Linked DNA regions of Homo sapiens: region 2 is linked to region 1. The links are contacts of gene promoters, found by promoter capture Hi-C in human tissues and cell types (Jung and others, 2019). All regions are on one chromosome and are shown on one strand. Each heading gives the region's core, a stretch centred on a gene start or on the middle of the fragment in contact. The rest is flanking DNA. Distances are from core to core; before and after follow the strand shown.

Region 1 (7,873 bases), core at 1,973-4,472:
GATCTGGCATATTTTTATTATTATATATATGTCTGATGGTATTATAAGTTGCCACAATTTTTTCCAGCAAACTAAAGTATTAGCAGCTGACCAATTTGTTAGCAATAATTGTAAGAATTGAATTTGCAACACTCCATTAAAATTCAATTCTTTGTCAGATGAGTAGGTAGCGAAAATTTTCTCCCATTTTGTAGGTTGCCTGTTCACTCTGATGGTAGTTTCTTTTGCTGTGCAGAAGCTCTTTAGTTTAATTAGATCCCATTTGTCAATTTTGTCTTTTGTTGCCATTGCTTTTGGTGTTTTGGACATGAAGTCCTTGCCCATGCCTATGTCCTGAATGGTAATGCCTAGGTTTTCTTCTAGGGTTTTTATGGTTTTAGGTCTAACGTTTAAATCTTTAATCCATCTTGAATTGATTTTTGTATAAGGTGTAAGGAAGGGATCCAGTTTTAGCTTCCTACATATGGCTAGCCTGTTTTCCCAGCACCATTTATTAAATAGGGAATCCTTTCCCCATTTCTTCTTTTTGTCAGGTTTGTCAAAGATCAGATAGTTGTAGGTATGCGGCGTTATTTCTGAGGGCTTTGTTCTGTTCCATTGATCTATATCTCTGTTTTGGTACCAGTACCATGCTGTTTTGGTTACTGTAGCCTTGTAGTATAGTTTGAGGGCTAATATCCAGAATCTACAGTGAACTCAAACAAATTTACAAGAAAAAAACAAACAACCCCATCAAAAAGTGGGCGAAGGACATGAACAGACACTTCTCAAAAGAAGACATTTATGCAGCCAAAAAACACATGAAAAAATGCTCATCATCACTGGCCATCAGAGAAATGCAAATCAAAACCACTATGAGATACCATCTCACACCAGTTAGAATGGCAATCATTAAAAAGTCAGGAAACAACAGGTGCTGGAGAGGATGTGGAGAAATAGGAACACTTTTACACTGTTGGTGGGACTGTAAACTAGTTCAACCATTGTGGAAGTCAGTGTGGCGATTCCTCAGGGATCTAGAACTAGAATTACCATTTGACCCGCCATCCCATTACTGGGTATATACCCAAAGGACTATAAATCATGCTGCTATAAAGACACATGCACACGTATGTTTATTGCGGCATTATTCACAATAGCAAAGACTTGGAACCAACCCAAATGTCCAACAATGATAGACTGGATTAAGAAAATGTGGCACATATACACCATGGAATACTATGCAGCCATAAAAAATGATGAGTTCATGTCCTTTGTAGGGACATGGATGAAATTGGAAATCATCATTCTCAGTAAACTATCGCAAGACCAAAAAACCAAACACCGCATATTCTCACTCATAGGTGGGAACTGAACGATGAGATCACATGGACACAGGAAGGGGAATATCACACTCTAGGGACTGTGGTGGGGTGGGGGGAGGGGAGAGGGATAGCATTGGGAGATATACCTAATGCTAGATGACGAGTTAGTGGGTGCAGCGCACCAGCATGGCACATGTATACATATGTAACCAACCTGCACAATGTTCACATGTACCCTAAAACTTAAAGTGTAATTAAAAAAAAAATTCAATTCTTTAGCAGTAAAGCAGTGGGAAGATGTCTAAGGACAACTGATATGCCAATTCGTATAGCCGTTTATCCACGAAGCTAATTCTGCAGTACTTAAAAATATTTTATATGCTTTATACTTCTTTCAAACTTGAGTCTTGAGCTTGTACTCAACATCGAGTTCGGCCCTGACATCTACTCTTTATAGTCGGTTACCTCTTTCTGAAGAAACAGGCTTCCAAAGAGAGACCAGGGGACTCATTAGATGTCTCATCTACCTTGATGATTGCTACCTTGATGATTGAAAACAGTAACCTGCTTCCTGAATCAAACACAAAACAGGCAACATGCAGTGTCTTTGCTATGCCACAACAGGGACTATTAGAATTTTTCTCACAATTCGGACTTTGGTTTTCAAAAGGGCTTGCGAGGGAAGTTACACACAAGAGAAAAACAATGAACCGAATGAGGACAATAGCCCACGAATTTAGAATGGAGGAAGCCCGTCCACCACAGCGAAAAAGCACAGTACCACATTGGCGGGTGCTCCAATATTTGTGAAATGTTGATGACCCTTTAAATGTTTCTGTGCAACCTCCACAACAAATACTGTGAATCTTGCTTATTAATGCGTTTCTCAATACGTTAAAATTCAGGAAATCATTAAGTCTAGTCCTTAACAGTGAAGGGCAAGCAATTTTCTGTCATTGAAATTACACAAAACAAAACAAAAAGCTCACGCCTGAATTGCTTCGGACTATTCAACTGGAAGATAGAAAAATATATGAAGTAAAGAAGAATAACCTACATAGAAGTTCCTATCTCTTATCTTCCTGAATACTTACCAGTACACTATTAGTTTGTTCTAAACTTTTCTTATATAAAAAGTAGCTGAATACTTTTAGGGAAATGGATTGTTTTGTCTGAATCATCCAGATAATTCAAACAATTCATTTTCCTAAGAACGATATGTGTGAGTCTGTCCTGCCCGGAAAATGCCCTCTGTCCTACTCAGGACACAAGTCACGCTCAGCTTAAACAGGCAAGGAATTGTCCCCTAGGAAGGAAATACGCCGTTGTCGTTCAGTGAACTCTGCAACCAACAGCAAGCCAAACTCTCCCTTGCACACAGTTCGTCAAGTTAATTCTTATTTTCCAAGGGCGCTTTCGTATTTCCATCTTTCAAAGACTCCTTCACCCACTGGCACCTAAGGCTTGCCCTAACGCATCCAGCCCCTGCCTCGCGATGGTGCGCTCCGCTTATAATAGCTCCGTCCTGTCCAATAAAGTTGTTTAAAATAAGAAATGTGCCAGATAATAGCCAAGTCCGAAGGAAAAAAAAAAAAAAAGAATTCCTGGGGTGGTGTATTGGTGTTGGAATGTGCCATTAGTTTTGGAGGGAGGAAAGTCCCTGGTGTGAATTGCCTCGCAGGTCGTAGGCCGCCACTGGACCTTCAGTCGTGCACTGCATTAGCGCCGTAATGGCAAAGATACGAAGAAGCGCGCAGGCAGGGGAGCCACGGCCGCGCGCACAGGCAAGAGCTGGAGACGACTGCGGAGCGCGTCCCCCACGCCCGCGTGGTGCGCTCTGGGGCGGCCCCCTAGCGGCAGGGCGGGGCGGGGCAGGGGGCGGAGAGGCCTGGCGCACAGGGCGAGGGCGGCTGCGGCGCAGTCTGCAGCATGGCGTACCCGGGGCATCCTGGCGCCGGCGGCGGGTACTACCCAGGCGGGGTAAGTGCTGACTGCGCGGGATCGCGGCCCAGGCGGCTCCGGGGCGCTAAGAGGCCACCTTGGAGATGCTGCGGCCAGCGGGGTGAGGCGCTGCTGGGCGGCTACCCGGGCTCCTTCCGCCCTCGGCTTCTCCCTGCGCTCGCGGCCTCGCCCTAGGCCCCTGGGGTTCGGCCTCTCCCCACGTTTCCCCGTCCCTTCTCCTGGATGGCCCTGCGGGGCCAAGGTGAGGGTGGATTGGGACCCTAGAAGCCCACCCTGCGGCTTCTCGGATACGCGGCGTGAAATCGTGTTAATTGGGTGTTGGCTGACCCCCACCCCACCCCACCCCCGCCTTCTTGGTTGCCTCCCAGAGCAACAACAGTCATTTTATTCTAGAATGATATACCTTCCTCCCTTTAAAAAACAAACAAACAAACAAACAAACAAACAAACAAAAAACGAGTGAGAAGGGGGACGGAAAAAAAGGGAAAACCTGCTGAAGTAAAAGACCTGTAGGAAGGCAGCCTCGCCGGGCGTCTGGGATGCGCGTTGTCTTGGGAACTGTTTCCGAGACAGGCAATGTTCCCTCGCCACCCACGAGATACAGCCCGGCCGGACACCTTACTCTTCCCTAGGCTACACCCGTCTCAGAATGTTACCAACTCCAGCCTTCCATCGTTCATAAAACGCTCTTAAAATACCATAAATGCTGTAACAACAAAAGGAGAATTTGAAGCCCTGCCATTCGTTGGCTTACCTAGTTTGCACTCACCTCAGTAACCTTCAGGTTAATAGGGATTTTAAAAGTTGCTTTACATATGTAGACATCACTTTCACAGCAACTCTTTATGGTCTAAGTCGCCAGTTTTTAAATTACGGGGTGTGAATGGAAGAGAGGGGTGGAGTGTTGGCAGAGTGTGCCCGGTGGTGGGGAGGTGAGCCTTGTGAAGGGCGGGCAGGCGGGCAGTTGTCTGGCCTTGCACAAAAGCCCTCAGTGGTGAAAGAAGAAAACTTGATTCGGCAGAATGACGTGTATGTGTTTCCTGTTTCACAGTATGGAGGGGCTCCCGGAGGGCCTGCGTTTCCCGGACAAACTCAGGATCCGCTGTATGGTTACTTTGCTGCTGTAGCTGGACAGGTTAGCTTTTCCCTTTAATATTAAAGAGCCGTTATTGTCTGCATTTGTGGTAGCTTTTGATATAGTGACACAGAAAAGCGAACTTCCTGTGGTACTGAGTCCCTTTGCTTCTGCAAAAGAAAAAAAAAGTTGTTTCTTATTTTAGTTTTTTATTTCTGAATGTTCAGAATAAATGAGGACAAAGTGTTACTCGTATTTATGTGAGTTCAGTTCGAAAGCAAACTTGTGGTTGAATTAAAGGGTCCAGGATGGTTTCAAGCGAAAAAATTCAAGATCTGGTAAATATAAACGCTTGTTTGTACAACTTAAAGACATATATTAGTAATTACATAGCTCGATTCTAATGGGCACTTTCTTTGGGTTGAACTTGATTGCTAATCATTCACCCCCTTAGGAAATATGGTAAAAACCCACCAGCTTCTAAATAAGGAAGTTACTGTTCCCTTCTTAGTATCAGAAAGTTAATCTTGTGAACAGTGTAGTTTCTCTTTGATGCAGATGCTGTTACTAGGTCAGCCCCTCCATGTCCTTATTAGGTGTTCTGGCCTGTTGACCCAGAGAAGCAATTAAGGTCAGCTCCCCAAGACCTTTCACTTGTCTGCATTCTGAGTTGTATGACAGGTGCTATCTTACATTGACAGGTGCTATCTTACATTGAGAGAGGACACTTCCCTAGTTCATGAGGTCACTGTGTGCAGTAAATATACTGTTGGTATAACCCAGACACGTCCAGAGGAGATGTTTGTTCTTATGAATTCAACCTAGTTTTGTTTTGACCAAAAGCTAGAAATAGCAAAATCTTAATGTGAAAACTGTAGAATATTATGGGATAAAAAACCTAAGACCACTTTTAAGGTAGTACTCTAAGAAATACAGCTTAAGAAATTGAATGGAAAATATAGTCTAAAACTGGAAGACCTTCCCCTTAAGTATCTACTTAAACTGTTAATGATCTGTATCTTTGAAACCACAAGGCATGGCAAACCTCAAGACTAGCATTCTTAGATTGCCAGTGCCTCCAGCATGTAAGTGACTCCACCTGCTTAGCTTTCAGCAGCCCTGGCCTGTATTCAGCATACCCATTGTCTTTCAAATTGCTGATCTTGCTCCTCATTTATAACTTATAATACCCAGTGACTTGAAGATTTAGGTATTTTATTTTAAAGTCCCTAAAAATCACATATATCTAGTTCTTTCCCAGTTCAGCCAGTGAATGGGCACTGGGAACCTAATGTGAATCTTCCAGATGTATTTGTGCTCTGAAAAAAATGATTCACTATATCATAAGAAAAAGTGACCAAGGAGGCCTTTTTCTGTTTGAACCAAGCCTTCTATTTATTGATGTCTGCTTTGTACCTTGCTCTCTCCACCCCCATCAAAAAAAAATATTTTAAAATGTTTAGCTGTAGCAGTTTGCTAGCTCAGATTGAGAGAAGAGTAGTTGCCAAGACAGACTCTTTCTTTCATCATTAAATTACTTTTGGAAGTGGGTTAAGGAAAAGAATGCCCACTTTTGGAAGGCATTCCTTTTAATAAAAAAAAGGCATTCCTTTTAAATAAAAAAAAGATACTGATTTTCTTTGTTGTTATTGCTTCATTGAATGCTGAAGGTAAACAACTTGAAAGTACAAATCACTATTATGATTCCTCTAATTTTTTTTCAAAAGGATGGGCAGATAGATGCTGATGAATTGCAGAGATGTCTGACACAGTCTGGCATTGCTGGAGGATACAAACGTAAGTTGACAGTCCCAAAGTTTGTCTAAATATACTCTTGTGTTTCCTATCTTAGCTGTTACTTGTGATTACAGCCTTCAAGAAAACTGAGCTTGTCGGATCTAGCAAAGTTTAGAATTCCGAAAGCTAAAATACAGTACTATTTCAAAATGTTGATTTGAAAACAGTTTTTAAATCACTCCAGGCTGGGCACAGTGGCTCACACCTGTAATCCCAGTACTTCAGAGGCCCAGGCAGGAGGATCGCTTGAAGCCAAGAGTTTTTGGCTGCAGTAATCTATGATTGTACCACTGCACTCCAGCCTGAGCAACAGAGCAAGACCTTGTCTTTAAAATAATAATAATAATAAATTATTCCATCCTACCTGCCAATCTAGTGGATTTCTCAGATTTGGGTTTTGTGTACCTAGAACCAGTGAGACAGTTTGGGTGGCCTCCTTCACAGAGGACAAGGTAGGGTGCTGAAATGGAATCTGCCAGGTCAGGGGTCATTAACTGACATTAGGAACTGATATTTACTGTTATTTGCCAAGAGCCTACTCTGCCCTGACCTGGTGGCACTTAGGGCTTTGAGTTGCTGCCCTGCACCCCTGGTCCCTGAGTGGCCTATCCTGCACTCCTGGTCTCTGAGCTTTGGGCATGCTCCTGCTAACATAAGTGGTTGCCATGACATCCCTCAGGTCTTTCCTCTTCCACTTCATAGAATGTATTCAGGCTAAGTGGGAAGTGGCCTTTCTACTTACTGGACCTGCTGCTCCATAATTCAGCCCTTACCCTACCCCTGCCTTTTGAACACTCTGCCATGAGCTGAGAGTAATGAAATACTGCAAAGATGCTCCATCCCTGGCAGGGCACAGTGGCTCACACCTGTAATCCCAGCACTTTAGGAGACTGAGGTGGGAGGATTGCTTGAGCCCGGGAGTTCAAGACTAGCCTGGGCAACATAGTGAAACCTTGTCTCTGCAAAAAATTTAAAAATTAGCCAGGCATGGTGGCATGCACCTGTGGTCCCAGCTACTCAGGAGGCTGAGGTGGGAGGATTATACAAGCCCAGGAGGCGGAGGTTGCAGTGAGCCAAGATTGTGCCACTGCACTCCAGCCTGGGTGACAGCCTGTCTCAGAAAATCCAAAAAATTGCTGCATCCCAACTGGGGGCTTCTCATCATCCAACACATATGAAGTGGTTCCTCTTGAAATTAGATCTTGAACATGATAGATTTCCAGGGTAGAGAATAATGTCTTAGTTCAAATACATTACCAACTTCTTTGCCAGTTGTTAATTGAGACAAAACATCAAATTGAAGACCCAATTTCATGGTTAGCTGTGGATTAAAATGTTCAAACTAGAATTCACAGCTGTGAATTTATAGTGGCCTTTTTTTAAAAACTATTTGACATGGCATGTATTAGATGGCTGTCTTTGAACTCTTTGCATTTGTTTTCATTATCCTTTGTTTTATGTGACTTTAGTATCCTATTACTCTTTCCTAATTAGAGGAATTAATACAAACGAAGAACCTTTCAAGTTCCTGTTATTTAATCTAGTCCTAAACAAAATAAGCACTTTTTGGATTAGGGGATGTTATTCTTTACTGTGTAGGCAGTACATTTAAATTGTTAATTGTTACGCAATTGAGCTGGTAAACAAGGTAGGCCTGCCTATTAGCAGGGTTTATCAAAGTGCAGTGAGATCACAGCATGGCCTGTTATTCTACATCCTTTCAGTAGATGAGGTG
Region 2 (7,873 bases), core at 1,658-4,157, 1.1 Mb before region 1:
ACACCTACCCAAGCCATCATTATTTTCTTCCTGGATGCCACCTACTGCTAGAGAGATCTAGCAGATCTCTCAGCTGCCAATTTCACCCTCCTCCACTTCTATCCACTGTTTACAATACAAACAGAGCAATCTCTTCAAAACTTTTTTCAGATTAAGCCTTTTGCCTGATTAAAGCTTATTAGTGGCTTAGAAATGATCTTAGACTAAAATCCAAGGTCTTTGGAATGGTCTGTGATATCACACATGATTTAGGCACTCAGTATATACCTCTCCAGTTTCATCTTCTGTCATTCTCTCTACTCTGCCTCTCTCTCCATTCCAATGCTCTCCAGCTATGCTGACTTTTTTCTATGACTCAAATATGCCATAATCTTCCCCAGTTCAGGACTTCTGCCCTTTCTAGACCACTCATATTTCTCCTTAGAAGGCTGTTTTCTCATCTTCAGAATCCAATATCATGCTGTCAGAGGCTTACCTTCACCACTAATTAAAAATAGCTCTAACTTTTTCCTCTACTCAGTAGTACATCACAGGAAGAGTAGTCATTAAGTGCATGAAGTATAAAAGCTGCTGTAGAGTGTTCCAGGTTAAAAAAAAAAGAGGGCATACACAAAGATTCACATGGAAGAGAAGGACATTTATAAGGCTAGAAAATGGTTATAAATGGAGTAGGGGTGCAAAATAGGGGAAGGTAAGAGATGAGACAGAAATAACTTGAATTATGAAGGGCTTTTAAGCCAACATAAAGAGGTTAGGCTTTATTTTGAACTATACAGTGGTATGAGAAGGAAGACAATGGAATGTCTCATACAGCAGAGTGACATGGCCGTAACTGTACTTTATAAAGATGAAAGGTAGTAGCGTAGATAAAGTGGGCAAGACTGGAGGCAAAGAAATAATCAAGCAGGAGATGGTGATGTGCTGATCTAAAATGAGAGGCAACATGGAGCTAGCTGGGGAATACTTAAGCAGCAGAATTAATTGTTGGGAAATTATCTAGCAATTAGGGATCTATTTGCACTTTTGACACTTCTATTACCAAGACAAATCATTTATTTCAGTAAGATGTTTTCCTTTGGCTAAGGCAATTAGTGGTTTAATTAAACAAGTAGTTCTATTTTTATAGAATAAGAAGGTCCTAATATATGTATGTTAAATACTGTAAATAAACTGATACATTTTAAGAGCTAAATGGGAGAAAGCAGTTAACCCTCAGTCTCTTAGGACAAATAAAACAAAATATTACTTCAAAACTGGGAATTTTAGAGCAGTGAGTCACGTCAGACGTGTTTAATCCACAAAGAAAACTAGATATTCCCAAAGTGAGTAAATTGCTGAAAAGCACTCTGAATAAGCCAGCTGAGTTTTGTTGTTGTTGTTGTGGATATTTTTCTTTTAACTTGTATTTGAAGGTTTAAAACTGTGATATTTCACTTCAGAAATGCCTTTAGTTGGCATATATGAATAAAACTGAAATAGTAATCAGAATCCTAGAGAGGAGAAAAAAGCAAGTATTTTCATTATAAACATCAATAGAATTTCAACTGTCAAACAAGCAAATAAAAAATAAGAACTTTTATTTTGAATTGCAATCTAGCAACATAGATTTTTTATATGCAAAATAACATGTTACAGATAACTGACATTTGGGCTGTGTGACCTGATAATAGGACATAACATAGAATTCCTAGAGTAATACATGAATAGTTGGTCAAATAGACCATCTTCCTTGAATATCAATTCTCTTAGTTAAGTTTGTGATTAAAAACTGAAAAGCAGACAGTTTGCTCATAAAATCTTGCACATGAGTTTAAAATGCTAGCAATCTATATATATGGTAGTTCTTAAGCTTTGGAAAACAAAGAGGTGAAAAGAAGGATGGAATATCTATTATGAAAGTTGAGAAGTCTGACTGGAATTCTTAATAAGAAGTAGGTGTGGTATCTGAGAAAAATGGGCCATAAAGGTCTCCAAGTTAAGTCCAAAATTCACTTTATTAGTCACTCTGAAATTATCGCAACCCTGAGACAATCCATTTTCTAATTTTTTTTTTCACATCGATCCATTTTGCCTGTTCTTTAGAACTGGCAACTTTCACACATAGCTGGTAGGGATGTAATATGGATCAACCACTTTGAAAAAGGTTTTGCCAGGTTTTAGTAAAATTGAACATATATTTACCTTATGATATAGTGATTCTGTTTCTATTTACTAAAAATATATATATGAAAATACATATGCACCAAATATAATAAAATTTGTACAAAAAGTTACAAAGAAGCTTTTTCGTAACAGTCTAAACAGCTGTCAACACAGGAATAAGTTATTTTTGCCATATATAGATAATTAATTATTGCTTTGTAATACAAGGTATGAACAACAGATACATGCAAAGACACAGATGTATTATCACATAGTCATTATGCTGAACTAAAAAAGCCAAACATAAAATAGCATATACTACGTAATCCCACTTTTGAGGAGAACAGAGATGTCCTGTATATTAATAGTAGTGCTGATTATAGAAATAGAGGGAACATCACACACCAGGGCCTGTTGTGGGGTGGGGGCTAGGGGAGGGAGAGCATTAGGAGAAATACCTAATGTAGATGATGGGTTGATGGGTGCAGCAAACCACCATGGCACGTGTATACCTATGTAATAAACCTGCACGTTCTGCACATGTAACCTAGAACTTAAAGTATATATATATATATATATATATATATATATATATATATATACACACACACACACACTATATAGATATATATACACACTATATATATATGAAATATATATATATACTATATATATGATATATATATATATATTTATATGAAATAGAGGCCTTTGTCAACTCTCTAAATATGTGTAGTTCACTGAATGGAAATTTTACCTGAAGAAAAAGAAACTGCAGACATATGGGCATAGGTTAACAGTGTTCTAGATTAGAGGAACTAAAAAAAAAAAAAAATTAAGTAAATGTAATGCCTGATCCTAGATTAGATCCTAGACCCAGGAAACAATATCTCTAAAGAATATTATTGATACAGTTTATGGAATTTGAATATGGGGATTAAAAATAGTGCTATCTAAATTTCCCAACTTTGGAATTGCTCTGTGTTTATGTAAAATAATGTCCTTACTCTTCAAAAGTGCACATGAATATTTAGGCTTAAAGGTCTCCAATATCCTCTCAAATGGTTAGAAAAAATATTACATCCATATCTTCATAGAGAGTAATACAGAATATAGAGAAAATATAAATAACTGGTGAATCTAGGGATATATGAGAGTTCTTTGTACTATTTCTGTAAATCTGAAACTACATCAAAAGGAAAGGTACCCTACCCCCAAATAAAGTGATAAATGCTCAGAAATGTCAAAGTTCTGCAGCATATTTAATTTGGGCCTCAACTCTTTCAAAAAATATATTACGATTTACCTATCATAGATATAGCAACATAGGCTTCTGTGGACTATGTACATTTGTCTCCAGTACGTTTGTCTCCAGAACTGATGTATGACTAAAATGAATGCTTCATTTTTGGAGAATAACTTTTAAGAATGATGGTTATTATTTAGCATAGTTAATAGTAAGCAATTCTTATCTATTTAGACAGCAAGACCAGTTGCCTCTGGTAATAACTTTTAGACCCTAAAGAGAAAACATTTCATCAACATAAAAACACACATATTTTTAAGTTTGCTACTCCGGGACAGCATGTGTCCAATTAATTGAACTTAGTAGGAAGCCATTAAAAAGGAGCTAAAAAAGGAGAATTAAAACATAGTTTTAGTACATGCTACTTGAAATTGTGACCTGGTCAGGCAGAACACATCTACCTATACTAATTAAGATAGTTTTATATGATTTAGTATTCATGAAAGCATTTACAGCTGAGGGGCTATGTTAAGCTTATATTTCTTGACCGCTCAATTTTGTACACATAATTATTGGTTAGTGCAAAGCAATAAAAACTATAAGTAGTCATATTTGACTCAGTTGATTTCTTAACAAAATGAGTATAAAAGAAGTCAATATTAAAATAGTTGACATGAAAACCATGCTCTTCTCATTTAAGGAAGTGGACTCTGAGACACAGGCCAGCAGCTCATTAAGGAGAAAGCTATCAGAAAGTGTTACAGAATTACCTATTAAGTTCTCTGTTTTACAGTTTAGGGAGAGGAAAGGTGGCTGGCTCTTTTTAAAAATTTAGCAGGCTACATGCTGAGACTCTACATTAAAGAACTTACGTTAATAGTTAATTGGAGTGGATAATTTGTCAAGTATTGGGGTCTACTACACACAACAATTCAAAAGTTTAGTCTGGTTTAGGACGCTGAGATCTCCTATGTATTTTGTAGGAAAATGAGCTCTGAAAGGAATCAGTAATGAGCCTTGTAGAAAAACCTACAATTTATGAGAAAACGACAGTCATCTTATTCTTTAGAGCCAGGGAAAATGTGGCTCTCAAAAGTAGAAGGAGTTCTGTCCTCCCAAAGACTCTCTAACAAGACATAACTTAAATAAGGATATCCATCATATATCCTAGTTTTTAGAACTAATAGCCAAGCAGAAAGCTTCATAACACCAAAAATTATATGAAAATAAAGAGGTCAAACATTTTATTTTAAAATTACATATCTATAAATCTAGATAAATTAAGAATCATCAATAGATAGAGATTTTTTTCCTGTATAATCGAATTTTGCAATATTAACTGATTTATTTAACAAGGAAGTTTAGTGTTTTAGAAGAGCCTATTTTATTTATGTATTTATGTATGTACATATGTATTTATTTTTGTTTCAATAGCTTTTAGGTACAAGTGGTTTTGGTTACATGGATGAATTATATAGTGATGAATTCTGACATTTTAGTGTACCTATCACCCAAGTAGTGCACATTGTATCTAATGTGTAGTTTTTTATCCGTTCCCTCTTCCACCCTACTCCTTCCGAGTCTCTAAAGTCCATTATACCACTCTGTATGCCTTTGCGTATTCAAAGCTTAGCTCCCACTTATAAGTGAGAACAGTTTGTGGTTTTCCACTCATGTGTTACTTTACTTAGAATAGTGTCCTCCAGCTCCATCCACATTGCTGCAAAATACATTGTTTTGTTCCTTTTAATGGCTCAACAGTATTCCAAAGTGTATATATACCACATTTTCTTTATCTACCCATTAGTTGATGGGTACTTAGATTGACTTCACATTAAAGGGGCCTATTTTAATCTAAATAAGTCAAATATATTTTTAGGACCTTGAGATCGATTCAAATTTGCAGACTGTGTACATAATCTGTATTTTTCAATATGCCCCAAATCAAATAAAATGAGAACAAAGTATAATTTATAAAATATAAATTATTGATAACTGTGAAAAACAAACACAAAAGAGTACCATTAGCAGATTGATTGTTTTGATCATTTCAGGAATAAGAGAAACTGATGGAAACAAAAAGAGATTTGGAGAAAAACCATTCAGCATAAAATAGGAGTATAAAGCATTTGCACGAAAAGATGGTCTTCATGGTGAGAAAAATTACCAGGGAATATGCAAAGTAAGAGTCAACAAGAAAGCTTTGAGGCAATCTGAAAGGTGAGTCACTGCAGAATTGCATTTTGAGCAACTGTACTACATAGCATCTTGTACTGAGCAGTGGGCAGCAGTGATATTTTCTCCTACAACAAATATAGGGTGCACGCACTGAGACCAGAGAAATATAAAAATGGGCCCAGATAATTACTCTCAGAAGAAGCAAGAAACCCTCACTGTCAAAATAAAAACTATCAGAATCCCCAGATAATAATACATTAATACATTCAGGGTGCTCATATAATTGCAGAGGCAGGAAAGGTATATTGAACTACCACCCAAAGAATAGGCAGCAGGAATTCTCAAATACAAAAATTATATACTGCCAAGAATTGGCAAGCAGTTGAGGAAAACTAGTATCATGAAAGTCCTCACACAAAGAACATGAGGAAACAGAGTAAGTAAACACATAAATATTATAATTAATGTCCTTAGATATATGAAAGTGAATCCCCATTAATTGGAAAAACCAAAATAAGTAATGAAAATTGTGTGAAAGGAAAAAATGTAGATAGAACCGAATGTCAGAATGAATGGAGCTAAAGAGTAAAACTAGGAATTCTCCCAGAACTTAAAAAATTAACATATACATTAATATATATGAAAAATAGTATAAAGAATTAAGACATGAAACTAAGGCCCTAAAATTTTAATATCAGTGAATTAAGAGTGATAAAAGGAAATAACAGAGACAGGAAAATAATTATCAAAGAATTAACAGGAGAAAATTGATCAGAACAGAAGGGAAGCATTGAGGAGACCCAGCAGGTATAGAGAAGCATTTTTTTAAAAAAAAAGTAACAAGAGATAAAAGCAATTAGACATATTTCAAGTGAGATTTCAGAACATAGGTGAGAAAAATTCTAAACTCTCTGAAAAAAACACTGAACAAACAAACCCAACTGATCTCTTATAGAGCAAGAATTAGTGTCATTATATTTCTCATTATCGAAACTGGTTACTGGGCTACAATGAAGCAGTATCATTCTGAGGGAAAATCATTTTGAATCTCAAATTTTGTACTTGGCTAAATTAGCATTTACATGTGAGGGTAAAATATAACTATTTACAAAGACATTTGGCATTACAGAGTTTAAAGTTTAAAGTTTAAAGAGTTTATGGTTTTTACCTAAAATGCAGAAATCTGATAAGGTCACTGTGCTCACCAACCATAAGAAAAGGCTAGAAGATCTACTGAATCGTAACTACTTTTCTTGAATGCATCAAAGAGTTGCAGTGTCAGGAAAACCAATTAACCCAAAATCTAAGGAGAGAGAAGAACCTCCAAGAAGAGAAAGAATGTGAGCCTTGACTCACTTAAGGCAGACTACCAAATGATGACAGAGTTGCCATAGAAATGGGTAGGACAATTTCAGCTAAAAGAATGTTGGTACAAACTTTTAACAAAACCGGAAAACAATTTTAATTAAAATTAACTAATAGTGTGTAAATTAAAACAAATGGAAAAATATTGCATGTGATCTCAAAATAAGAGGTGGAGATTGCAAAATGCAATTGAGCTTCTCATGTTTCCATTTCTGCATTCTTTTTTTTTTTCTTTTTTTTTGAGACGGAGTCTCACTCTGTCGCCCAGGCTGGAGTGCAGTGGCACAATCTCGGCTCACTGCAAGCTCCGCCTCCTGGGTTCACGCCATTCTCCTGCCTCAGCCTCCCTCCCAAGTAGCTGGGACTACAGGTGCCTGCCACCAGGCCTGGCTAATTTTTTTGTATTTTTAGTAGAGATGGGGTTTCACCATATTAGCCAGGATGGTCTCGATCTCCTGACCTCGTGATCTGCCTGCCTACACCTCCCAAAGTGCTGGGATTACAGGTGTGAGACACCACGCCTGGCCCATTTCTGCATTATTACTGATGGAGGATATAAATATCTAGTAATTCCAGACATTGAAAGAAAACAGTTTATTTATTTAAAAATTTACTTTTATTTTATTTTTAATTGGGACAAATAACAATTGTATAACTTTTGGAGTAAATGTCATATTTTCATACATGTATATATGGTGGAATTATCAAATCAATCTAATTAACGTATCCATCACCTCAAATACTCATCTTTTTTGTGGTGAGAACATTTGACCATACTTATTAATAACGTATTATACATTTCAAAAAAGCTAAAAGAAAAGTGTATAATTAAACATGTTGGCTAAATACTGTGGGTAACTGTAGAATGAATAGAAAAAATGATATATAACTTCCAAATCATTAAAAAAAATTAAAACATTCAAAAGTTCAGAAGATAAAAAA

The links. Contacts are between HindIII fragments. The study calls those that stand out against the background at their distance.
Region 2: a fragment that was not itself captured here is called in contact with the fragment with the promoter of SRI in region 1 in 1 of the 25 tissues and cell types used here (mesenchymal stem cells).

What each region holds. Positions count from the first base shown.
Region 1 is chr7:88,215,387-88,223,259 of GRCh38, reverse strand. SRI (sorcin) reads left to right here and starts at 3,222. Exons shown (of 8, transcript NM_003130.4): 1 at 3,222-3,284; 2 at 4,318-4,401; 3 at 6,069-6,138. The coding sequence starts at 3,234. It overlaps SRI-AS1 (SRI antisense RNA 1), which reads right to left and starts at 6,600. Exons shown (of 3, transcript NR_120517.1): 1 at 6,503-6,600; 2 at 4,036-4,511. LOC124901691 (a long non-coding RNA gene) reads left to right here and starts at 6,676. Exons shown (of 2, transcript XR_007060419.1): 1 at 6,676-6,817. RefSeq lists silencers at 3,000-3,499, 4,147-4,236. The HindIII fragment of the contact is 24,276 bases long and covers 1-7,873 here.
Region 2 is chr7:89,293,088-89,300,960 of GRCh38, reverse strand. All of the region lies in intron 2 of ZNF804B (zinc finger protein 804B), which reads right to left. Among named protein-coding and RNA genes, the nearest start is that of TEX47, 500 kb to the right of the region's middle. The HindIII fragment of the contact is 3,790 bases long and covers 1,013-4,802 here.